Regions from separate parts of the Homo sapiens genome. Here all the other regions are linked to region 3. Evidence: promoter capture Hi-C in 16 types of primary human blood cells and fetal thymus (Javierre and others, 2016). All regions are on one chromosome and are shown on one strand. Each heading gives the region's core, a stretch centred on a gene start or on the middle of the fragment in contact. The rest is flanking DNA. Distances are from core to core; before and after follow the strand shown. Region 1 overlaps TMCC2 (transmembrane and coiled-coil domain family 2). Region 2 overlaps TMCC2 (transmembrane and coiled-coil domain family 2). Region 3 holds the start of TMEM81 (transmembrane protein 81).

Region 1 (3,671 bases), core at 509-3,008, 160 kb after region 3:
AGCCAGCTGGCCCCATCACAGTGTCTGGAGGGAGGTCTCACATCAGCTTGGGCCTGGGGAAGGGGGAGGTGTCCTGGCAGGTCCCTGGTCTGAAGGCTGCAGGATCTGGCCTGTTCCAAGTCCATGGCAGAGTTGACATCTTGGTTCTCCCCAGCACAGATTCAGGTGAGCCTTGTGACCCTGCCTCAAGCTGGCCCCCAGGGGATGGTAACTCCTGTGGGAAAAGCTGGCATTGTGTAACTTAAGATCTCGAGGGCTGCCCCAGAATTCAGTTCTTGAGAAGGAATCATGGTAGCCTTAATTTCCTCTTCTCTAAATGGAGATGTTTCCGTTGTTGCTTTTGTTACTATTTAGGAGAATCAATGGGATAATGCAGGATACAAATCTCCTTTGAAATGAAAAACCGTTAGTTCGTGATGAGTTGTGATGATGTAATTTATCTGGTCTGTAAAATGGGTGATGTAAGGGCCTCATCTACTTTAAGGATTCTGGGGATACTCAAATGAGGTGAAAAATGAAAATCCTAAAATTTTACACAAATACATAATAGTACAGTTATTGTATCCAGCTGTAAGCGCAGCCATCTGCACAAACTCAAGGCTGAGTTGTAAAGTAACCTAAGAGTGGGGTCAGCTCATTTAGAGGATGTCAGGTTGCTTTTTCTTGGTTTCTATATGGTCTAGATTTTCTGCTCTGTAAGTTTGTTTCTAGGGAAAAAAAAAAAGAAAATCCAGTCTGTGTAATTTTTTGGAACATTTTTTAAATGACTGAGGCAGCCTGGTAAGATTGTGGGTTGTTCCTCACAGGAAATCCTGCTATGGCTCATTGAGTCCCAAATGGCTGGGCCCTGAGTTTTCCTCTAAGGAGCTGCAGAATGTGAGGTGTCTCCTGGTCCTCCAAGTCTCACCCCTCCTTCCAACAGCTCCAAAGCTCTCATAGAGGGCTCAACCTGGCCGGATAAGCCGTCCCCTGACAGAAGCAGCTGTCTGGAATTATACCACAGTTGCTCGCCCTGGCAGGCCATCCAGCTGCCCCTCTGTGAGCAGTCTTGCCGGAAGAGCAGCTGGAGAATCTCAGCAACAGGGCTAAGAGGAAAGGCTGTGGCCTGGGCGGCACCGGGTTGCAGTGCCTCTATGCTTTGGATCTAAGGGGAAAGACACTCATTTGGATAGCTTGTTCTGATGTGTATGCTAAAGAATTGGTCACATTACTATGTCACAAGGTTTGCTCATAGAAGTAAAGTTTATTTCATTGCCAACCATATCAGGAATGAAATTGGTTGCAAATAACAGAAAATCATACTAGAGTTGTGTAGACAAAGATGGGTTTATTTCATGCAACAAGAATCCCAGGATAGATGTTCACAACTGGTTTGGTGGCTCCATAGACCTTCAAGTTCCCAGGCCTGTCCCTTGGGCTCCACCATCTGTGTGCAGACCCTCATCGTCAACCATGTCATCTTGTGGTTGCAGAATGGCCACTGCATCTCCAGGCACTACGTTCCCATTCCAGATGGGAAGATTTGGGAAGGGCCAGTGCCTTTATCAGGAAAGCAAAAGTGCTCCCAGAAGCTCTCACCTTGCTTTTCGTTGGCCCAAACTGTGTCATGTGGCTACTCCTAGCTGCAAGGGGAGTCTGATGAAGCAGGAATTTTTAGCAAGGTGAGTTAAGTCCTTGCAGTTTGGTTGGTAAGAAAGAAAAATAGATATTGGGTAGGCAATTAGCAGTGTCTGCTACAACAGTATAACTTGATTGTATGACCCTGATTTTACTGGGGGAATGTTGGAATTAGGCAACTTTGGAAATCGATGCTTGGTGGCCTGAAAGAACTAGTACAGCTTGAAGGGTCGTCTAACTTGGAAGGAGGGAAGGACTGGGGGTGGGGATCAATCTAGAGGGATACAACCCCATGAGCCAAGTGCTACCTGTGTATGCCATTAAGCCCCAGACTGAAGCCCTGAGAGCATCATTCCTAGAAACTCTGAACCTTCATTTTGATTAGGAATGTCCCGTGGAAAACCGTGGGGGCACACTTCTTTCGGAATGAAAGGATGGGTCTGGGTTGCCACCTTTTCGCAAACTGACCCTTTATGCACGACGGGCCATCCACAGAGATCTTCCAGGTTCAGATGGCTGCATTAGCTATGCCAGTCTACCAAGGACAGACCCTTCACCTTCACCCTCCTACTGACTAGGCAATCAAGAGCTTTCCACTCACCAGGGTTCTTCATCTCTCCCCCTTAAGAAAATCCAGCAGCTGTCAGAGGGCTCCATGTTTGGCCACGGTCTGAAGCACCTGTTCCACAGCCGCCGTCGGTCTCGGGAAAGGGAGCACCAGACGTCTCAGGATTCCCAGCAGCATCAGCAGCAGCAGGGTATGTCCGACCATGACTCCCCAGATGAGAAGGAGCGCTCTCCGGAGATGCATCGCGTCTCCTACGCCATGTCCCTGCACGACCTGCCCGCCCGGCCCACCGCCTTCAACCGCGTGCTGCAGCAGATCCGCTCCCGGCCCTCCATCAAGCGGGGCGCCAGCCTGCACAGCAGCAGTGGGGGCGGCAGCAGCGGGAGCAGCAGCCGGCGCACCAAGAGTAGCTCCCTGGAGCCCCAGCGTGGCAGCCCTCACCTGCTGCGCAAGGCCCCCCAGGACAGCAGCCTGGCCGCCATCCTGCACCAGCACCAGTGCCGTCCCCGCTCTTCCTCCACCACCGACACTGCTCTGCTGCTGGCCGACGGCAGCAACGTGTACCTCCTGGCTGAGGAGGCCGAAGGCATCGGGGACAAGGTGAGATGGGCCTTCTGGGGCAGGGGGAGACTCAGAGGCAAGGGCCATCCGCTGAGGGGCCTTGAGACCTGGGGAGCTGAGCCAGGGGCCCTCCCTGGCAGATACTGACACCCCACCGTCTGCAGAGTTATCTACCTTGGTTAAAGGAGTCGGGTATGACTAGGCCAAAAACAAGAGATGATTCCCAGGATGGCTAATTTTTGTTTCCTTAGGGCTGTTTTTCAAAATTGTGTTTTGCTCATGCTGATATTAATGTTGACTTGTTTTCCTTAAATGGGCTATCAAGAGGCAATAGGTATAGTAGTTTAAAGCACAGACTGGAAGCAACTCTGGTTCTGCCACTTACTCAGTTAACCTCTTTGTGCTTGTTTCACCAATTGAAAATGAGGATAATAATAGTACAGTTGTAGGACTAAATGAGTTAATATATGTAAAATACTTGGAATAGAGCCTGGCATAGTATCATCTTTACTATTGGCACCAACCAAAGAAGATAGGGGATCCATGAAGGGTGATTTGGGAAGGAGAAAAGCTAGTTTAGCACTTCATGAATTTATATATTCGTTCTTTTATTCGTGTAACAAGTATCTATTGAATTCTTATGTTGTGCTACAAGAATGAACAAGCCAGTGTTGCTGTCCTTGTGGAGCTCACTCTAGAGGGGGTACAAGTGGGTGAATGGACAGAGAGATGGGAGCTGCTGTGGGAGCTTCAAGGGAGAGGGGACTTGAGGAGAGAGCGAGGAGCTGGCAAAGACCTGTTTGAGGAAACCATTGAGCTGAATCTTGAATAATTTAGCCAGGGAAGAACTGGGAGAGGGGAAGGGGGAAGAGAGGGCATAGTATGTACAAAAGCACACAAGCTGGTGCTAGGGGCTACTGGGGGT
Region 2 (3,951 bases), core at 157-2,656, 180 kb after region 3:
TCTCCCAACTTTACCGTAAGGTCACATGACCTCTTTGGGTTGAAGGATTTTAGCTGGCTGTAGGCTTTCCTCTCCATCCTAGTCTGGTTGACCTCCCCTTCCATCTGAGAATGGGTAGAAAAAGGGAATCTGAGCGTTCTTTATCCCGAGAGGGCCACTGAAATCAGAGTCACGGGGCAGCAGTCAGCAGATTGAAGCATCTCTGCTGAGTCACCCAGGCCTGCCAGCCCCGGGGCCGCACTCGCCTGCTGGGCTCTGACCCACTGGGAGCCCAGACCTTGCTCCCAGGAGCGGTGTTCTGCACAGGCCTGGGCCTGCTTGTCTAGACCCATAGACAAGCCAGGGTTGACACCTGACTCCATTGTCAGGATGACTGGGCTGCCCTGCTTTCCTAAAGGGAAGCATAGGAACCCCCAAAGCTTTTTCTTTGTCTTTTTTTTTTTTCCATCTAAGAGTGACCTTATATTGTCTTTCCAACTCCTGAGCAGATGGCTAACATGAGAAGGCCCCTTTCTCCCTGTCAGCCTGCTGTGGGGACCCTAACGGGTTCTTTGCGAGTCTGGGAAGGGGCTGCCTGCCTCAGAGGGAGGAGGGTCAGAGGTACAGCTTTCTCGTGCAGCTGGGAGCACAGGTGTGGAGCACATGTTCCTTGCAAATGGCAGCTGTTTCTGTGGTCTATCTTGAAAACTGCTTAATGCATTTACATTATGAAGAAAGAGAACCACGATTCACATTTCCCAATTTACATAGCTAGTGCCCTTCCCCTCCCTCCACACAGCTTCACTTAAGCCTGGATACTTTCTGTTCCAACAGTGTCTACTGTGTGCCTCCCGGATATCGGGGATCCAGGCTGCTGGGCTAGTGTGTGAGAGGAAGCACCGGTGTCCCATGTCCAGGGCCGGGTTGACACGAGGACACTGAGTTCAGGCCCTGGGAGGAGGTGGAAACCCCAGGAAGTTCCACGGGAGCCAGGGCTGGGAAGCCCTGATCCGGCAGCTCCTTATAATCTGGCAGAGAGCCTAATCCAGCTTCATTTAGTGTTGTGAAAGGGGCCAGGGAGGTGAGTCCGGGGTGCCACCAAGGCCATGTGGAGGGGAGCCCCCAGGTGTGCGTGGGCTGAGGGTAGATCTCACTGGAGCAGGAAGAGGAATAGGGAAAGTTGGGTCTTGGACACTTGAGAGAACGTCCCAGCTCTGGCTTATCCAGACATTTGTCAGCACTTCTCAGCCCTCAGCCTTTGTGTAGAGCAAGATGTAAGGCCCTGGCTGGTAGGGTCCCTGAGCAGGGGGCATTCTGGTGTGGAGGGGGATCATGGAAGAAGTATGACTCTCCCTCCACGGTTCTCCTCTTAGAGCTTGCCCAGCCCATTCACAAGGATTAATCTGGAGTCAGGTACCTGTGGAGTGGCCAGCCTATCTCAGGCAGGTTGGGGTGGGGTGAGGAGGTCATGGTGTGGGGGCCACAACTCCAGGTGTGGTGCTGGTGGCTGGGCATGGATAGGGAGCTGGGTGGCATGGGCCAAACAGGACTCTGTGATGGTCTGGAGAGAGGAGCAGTGGTTCCTGTGTAGCCCACCTGTGCCCTGCTTTGGGCTGGGGAACCTTGGGCATTTCTGCCTGCTACTGACTGGGAGTTGAGTGATCTGGTCTTTTTAGTCAACCAGCTGCACGACAGGGGTATTAGGAGTGTGTTAGGAAGAGCTGCTACCCTACTAAACCTGACACAGTGAGCTGAAGGACCCAGAGACCCTCCTGCATACCCACTCTGTAATGGACAATGGTGGGAGCTGTGGCCCAGGCCAGTGGAGGACCCTGGCCTTCCACACCCAATTGTTGAAACATCACCTCCATCTAGTTCCTAAACATTTTCAGCAACCCCAAGGAAACCCTGTACCCATTAAGCTGTTACTCCCCATTCCTTCCCCCACCCCCACCCCAGCCCCCTGGCAGCCACTAATCAGCTTTCTGTCTCTGTGGATTTAACTGTTCTGGATATTTCATATAATGGAATCATTCATTATGTGGCCTTTCTTGTCTGGTTTGTTTCACTTAGCCTAACATTATTGAGGTTCACCCATGTTGGAGCATTACCGGCACTTTGTTTCTTTCATGGCCGAATAGTATTTCATTGCAAGAAATGTCACATTTTGTTGACCCATTCATCAGTTAATGGACATCTGAGTTATGTCCACCTTTTGGCTATTGTGAATATTGCTGCTATGAGCATTTGTGTACAAATGAGTGTTGAATACTCATTTTCAATTCGTTTGGGAATTGAAAATATCTAGGAGTGGAATTGCTGGGTCATAAAGTAATTCTATGTTAACTTTTTGAGGAACTCCCAAACTGTTTTCCACATCAGCTGTGCTGTTTTATGTTTTAGGTATGTTGCACAAAGCTTCCAATTCCTGCACATGCTCACCAACACTTATTTCCTTTTTTTTTTTTTTTTTTTTTTGAAGCAGGGTCTCACTCTGTTGCCCAGGCTGGAGTGCAGTGGTGTGTGTGATCATAGCTCACTGCAGCCTCGAACTCCTGGGCTCAAGCCATCCTCCTGCCTCAGCTTCCTGAGTAGCTGGGACTACAGGCATGCACCACCACACCTGGCTGTTTTTTTATTTTTTGTAGAGACAGGTCTTGCTGTGTTGCCCAGGCTGGTCTTAAACTCCTGGACTCAAGCAATTTTCCCATTTTGGCCTCCAAAAGTGCTGGGACCACAGGTGTGAGCCGCTGTGTGCAGCCCACTTATTTCCTTTCTAAAAATTACTAGGGGCTGGGCTTGGTGACTCATGCCTGTGGCCCCAGCTACTTAGGAAGCTGAGGTGGGAGGATTGCTTAAGCCTGGGACGTCGAGACTACAGTGATCCACGATCATGCCATTGCACTCCAGTCTAGGCCATGGAGTGAGAACCCGTCTCAAAAAAAAAAAAATTATTATAGTCATTCTAAGGGTGTGAAGCGTCTCTTAATTTGTTCGTATTTGTTTCTAAGCACCTGCTTTATGCCCTTTACTCAGTGTTTCATCTCATCGTCCTGATAGCTCTCAGCTGGTAAGTGACAGAGCCAGGATCTAAATTAGTGCCCAACTCCAACTTTAAAGCCCTTTCCTTTACCTTCCGCAGACCCTGTATCCTGTCTCATGGCTGTTCTTTTTGGCAAGTCTTTCTCCTTTTCTCACCCTCTGTCCTGTTCCAGCACTCTGAACAGCTTTCTCATCTTTTTCTTCTTGTTCACTAATTTTCTTTCCTTTGTTAAAGCATAATCTTTCCTTTGTTAAAGCTGTCCCTATCTGTGTACCAGCTCCTTGGCTCTGTTTACCTTGGTTGCCCTCTCTCCATCGAGTCCTGAAAGGTAGCTGTCACCCTGGGTACATGTGCTGGGGAAGGCAGGGCATGGAGAGCTCCCCACCTTCTTCAGACATGCCAGCTCCCTCCACGGGGAAGGAGAGCAAAGTGATGTTCTGTGATTGGAGACCCAACAGCAGATCCCAGGCATTGTAAACCTCTGTGAGGGGTAGGAAAAAGCCGGCGTCCTGCTGCAGGACTCCCAGGCTGGAATCTTGACCCTGGGGTAGAGAAGAGGGGCTAGCAAGAGGACCAGGATCCCAGCCCAAGGCCCCTCCACACACCAGGCCCAGGAGTGTCTCTTCTCTCATTCCTGGGGATTTCCCAGCCAGCTCCGACTCTGCTTCTCAGAGTTGTAACTAGACAGCTCAGCCTCTCAGGGATCTGGAGGTCTTGGGTTTCCTCCAGGGATGGGGGCAGGGACTAAAGATCCTGGAGGGGAAGGATGGGGGGATGTCTGCTATTTCCTGTTAACATGCAGGGTGTTTCCCTTGTTCTCCAAACTTTGAAATAACCTTTCCTGGGTTTGGTCAGCTTGTGTGTGAAGAAGGCAGATCCAAGTGAGATAAATGTGAGGTTTGCCCCAGAGGGAGGCTACCCCATTCTTG
Region 3 (4,009 bases), core at 1,080-3,579:
TGTGATAAAGATATTGTGGTTACAGAGAACATCCTTATTAGGAGATGCATACATGGTTTAAGAGTTAAGAGTTGCAATGTCTGTGACTAGCTTTCAAATGGTTTAACAAAATCAATCTATATTGAGAAAGATAATTGTGACAAAATGTTAATTCCTGGTGAATTTTGGTAAAGGTTCTATGCATGGTCACCAAACATTTCTTTCAGCTTTTCTATGGGTTTGAAATTTTTACAAGTTAAAAGTAAAATAAATAATAGAGATCCTTTGACCATAATTTAAACTGAATTAGCATTGTCAGGATTAGAGCTCAAGAACCTTTATTTTTCACAAGGTCATCCAGATGATTCTAACACACATCTAGAGAATCGCTGGTCTTTGGTTTCTGCTACCTCCTGTAGTCAGAGAAAAGTGAGAGGAAGAAATGTTGTAATTCTCTCAGTAGAATTAGCTCAGCTGGTGGCCAAGAGTCTTTCCCTGATGGTTCCACAAGCCAATTATCTCAGACACGGTCCGAATGGCCTCGGAGTCTTAAGACTGGATTTCCTATGGAGGAATCAAAGTACTAATCCTCCTTTGGGGGCCTTGGCTGCTGTAAGAAACCAATACTTGACCCTCCCAGGAATAGAAGCTTCAGGGCACTGAAAGAGCTAAAAGGACTGGAGTGGAGGCAAGCCAAGGTGCTGTCTGAATGGTAAGAGGAAACCTACCAGGTGAAGGATCTAGTGTTTTGCCAAGAAATTCAATTTAATACCAAACAGGGGATTTACCTGGGCAGAACAGGCAATTTGTTAATATTTAGTGACTGTTACACACCTGAGTTGGATGTCATTACTAACAACCCCTGCCATAGGCTTATGCACTGCACCCCCTGCCCCCAAAAGCAGACAATTGGTTTAATGTCTATTCTAAGAAACCTGAGGAAAATGAAGCCAGACTGATTATGGGACAATTTAAATAAATACAAGAAACTGAAGAGCAGAAAAAGGTCTCCATACAGCTACTGTGAATTACTTTTATTGAAAAAAAATGTTCACTAAAAAGGCTGAATACATCCCTCTACATGAATACACAGCTCAGAAGAGGGGAAATGGAGGTGGGGAGGCATCCAAGTCATAAAGGGTAGAAAATGAATGCAAGCTTCTTAGAACTCTTCCCAGGAACACAGGCAATGCTTGCAGTTTCCTGGGTACCCAATGGGCAGGGAAGATCAGGAAGAGATCCATGGGACATAAGGAAGTTAGGTTACTGCGCATAGCTCCCAGGAGATTGTCCCCTCCATTTCTCCCACTCATTCTTTTGGCTGTGGGAGTGTTCCCTCTAAGCTGATCCACTACCAGCAGCTGGAACACTCCCCTAAAAAGCTAGCTTGGCTTCCTGGGCAGCCAGTTCTTCAGGAGCAAGGCTGTTAAGTTCTTGAAGCTGTCACTGCTGCAGGCCCCCCCTTAGCGCACAGAGGACAATCCTCACCAACACGCCACCAACCACTCCAATGGCAATTCCTATTCCCAAGGCTGACGCCACCTTCTTTTTCCACTTTGGGTGGTGAGGCTTGGAGTAGCTGTCCAGATTAACTTCCAATCCCTCATCTATTAACTTCTGATCCTCAGTAAGTGACTGATGGAAATTCAGATTCACCAAGTTAGGAGGAAGGACCCTCAACCCAAAATAGAGCCTCTTGACGAGTCTCAAGTTTTTTACCAGCTGCACATCACAGCGATATGTCCCAGAGTCATACTCCTGAGCATATTTAAACTTCACAAAGTGGGAGTTGGCTTGAAAGGGTTTGAAGACCTCATCGTCAGTGGAGATGACACCTCGAGCAAGTCTCCAGGTGAACCGGAAAGCTTCCTGTCCAAACTCCAAGATGTCTGAACTCAGACAGCTAAGCTCAAATTCCTTGCCAATGAGAATGGTGAAATGGAGCATCCCACAGATCCAGTTGGTCAGACATTCTAAGCGCCGAGTCTGACATTTCCTTCTCACTCCATCAGGGCCCACCTCACAGACGGTCTCCTCCTTATAGCCAAGGCCACAGGTGACAGTACAGGTTGTGGCATTGATGATAACTTTCCCCACAGCTTCTTGCAGCTTCTCAGGGATGGCCAGTGTTTTAGGTGTAGTCACCACCAAAGGCAGGTAGAAGGCCAACCCCAGGCTCCCAAGGACAAAACTAGTGGCTAAAACCTTCATGTCTCGGTAGGCGTTTTGCCACCCTCAGCCAGCACCCACAAGGTATTCCAGCTGAATCCTCTATAAATCATAACTTGATTCCTTTGACATGAGATATCCTTCAAAGTCAAAAGATATGATGCATGTATTGTCAATAAAACAACACAACTTAATAAATAAAAGTCCAGTCCTTATAAACAGGTGAGGCCACAAGGCAGGAAAAAAATCACAATGGTGTTGCTTTACTAACTATCGTTGTTAATAAAATAACCACCTTACCTACTAGTCTTCACGCTTTTTTTTTTTTTTTTTTTTTTTGAGGCAGGGCCTCACTGTCAACCCAGGCTGGAGTGCAGTAACATGATCACAGCTCACTGCAGCCTCAACCTCCTAGGCTCAAGTGATCCTGCCACCTCAGCCTCCTAGGTAGCTGGGACTACAGGTGCAGGCTATCACACCTGGCTAATTTTTCTATTTTTTGTAGATACGGGGTTTCACCATGTTGTCGAGGCTTGTCTCCAACTCCTGGGTTCAAGCAATTCACCCACCTCAGCCCCCCAAAGTGCTGGGATTACAGGCATGAGCCACCGCGCTGGCCGTTTTCGTGTTCTCTTAATGACTTTAAATCCACCTCTTGGGAAGACAAAGAAGAAAAGACTTCAGAAACTGAAGTAAATTTCCAGATTACCTCAAATGCATAGTGAAGTTACACTCTTCCTCACCCTTCCCCTTCCCCTCTATAAACTAGGATCTAAATTAAGGGTTTCAAAAGCCCCAGTTAAATGTCACCAAATAAAACAAATACTAAAGTCTAAAAAAAGGAAGATTAACTTGAATTATTTTAATGTTCCTAAACTTCCTATAAAAAGGATTAAGAACTCTGGACTAGGAGGCAAGTAACTTACCCTTCCTGAATTTCTGTTTCCTCCTTTGTAACTTAAGACCTCCTTGCCTATCTGAGGAAGGTCACTTAGAGCACTGAATGATATACTGTATGTGAGAACACTTTGTAAAGTGTGAAACACTGTTCAATGTGTAAGGAATTTTAAATAGAAATGGAAATTCATAAAGACAAGGGCCAAGATGACCTTTTCAAATCAGAATGTTTAAGGTTGTGTTAAAGGCAGCTCCTCTCCCCCTTTTAGGCACTCTTCCTTCCCAAGGATACTGAAGATATATTTTGAGTGAGAGGATGCATGATGCTCCCTGACTCTTGGCCTACTCCCTTTATCCTACAGAATAGAGCTCATTATTCACGTAGGTCAAGGTTGCTATGAAACAGCTATGATGTCAAAGATGGAGTTCTCAATCACATAAGATTAATAAGTAGACCCTCAAATTTGACATTAAAATCAAAGACTTACATAGACTTTGTGAAACATCTTATCTTTAGGAGACAACGAGCATTTAATAAATTTTAAAGCTGCTTCATTCAAAAAAAAAAAAAGGCTAATAAGAATTCAACCGTACTTACTTAGACTTGAAGAAAGGTCCTTGGAAGACAGGAACTTCCTAGCATGCATTTTTGTAACCTCCAGAATGCCTAGCCCTACGGCCTCTTCAGAGTAATTGCAAAACTATATTGAGTTAAATAATTGGAAGACAGATCATTCCTAGATGATCTTTTTGATCAACAACTTTTCCACTTGCATCATTTATTTACAATCTCATCTAGAGGCAGAAATCTAGACTACCTGTCCACTCCCTACCCCTTCCAGATCTATCTTTCCACACTGAAAGATCTAGTATCAACACAGGAAATCACACTTTCCTTTGTACTAAAGCAAAGTGGCCAGAGAGTTCCAGAAGTGAGCAGTGTTTACAAATAAACATCTACACC

The links. The method cuts DNA at HindIII sites, captures the fragments that hold promoters and counts their contacts. A CHiCAGO score of 5 or more calls a contact.
Region 1: a contact is called between a fragment that was not itself captured here and the fragment with the promoter of TMEM81 in region 3, in 1 of 17 cell types (endothelial precursors). The highest score is 5.6, in endothelial precursors.
Region 2: a fragment that was not itself captured here is called in contact with the fragment with the promoter of TMEM81 in region 3 in 2 of 17 cell types (endothelial precursors and megakaryocytes); the score reaches 5.5 in endothelial precursors.

The regions. Positions count from the first base shown.
Region 1 is chr1:205,239,260-205,242,930 of GRCh38, forward strand. It overlaps TMCC2 (transmembrane and coiled-coil domain family 2), which reads left to right. Exons shown (of 5, transcript NM_014858.4): 2 at 2,246-2,785. Among named protein-coding and RNA genes, the nearest start is that of TMCC2-AS1, 3.8 kb to the left of the region's middle. The HindIII fragment of the contact is 6,983 bases long and covers 1-3,671 here.
Region 2 is chr1:205,258,762-205,262,712 of GRCh38, forward strand. All of the region lies in intron 2 of TMCC2 (transmembrane and coiled-coil domain family 2), which reads left to right. Among named protein-coding and RNA genes, the nearest start is that of TMCC2-AS1, 23 kb to the left of the region's middle. The HindIII fragment of the contact is 1,978 bases long and covers 418-2,395 here.
Region 3 is chr1:205,082,131-205,086,139 of GRCh38, forward strand. It overlaps TMEM81 (transmembrane protein 81), which reads right to left and starts at 2,330. Exons shown (of 1, transcript NM_203376.2): 1 at 999-2,330. The coding sequence starts at 2,190. The coding sequence ends at 1,423. The HindIII fragment of the contact is 2,208 bases long and covers 1,843-4,009 here.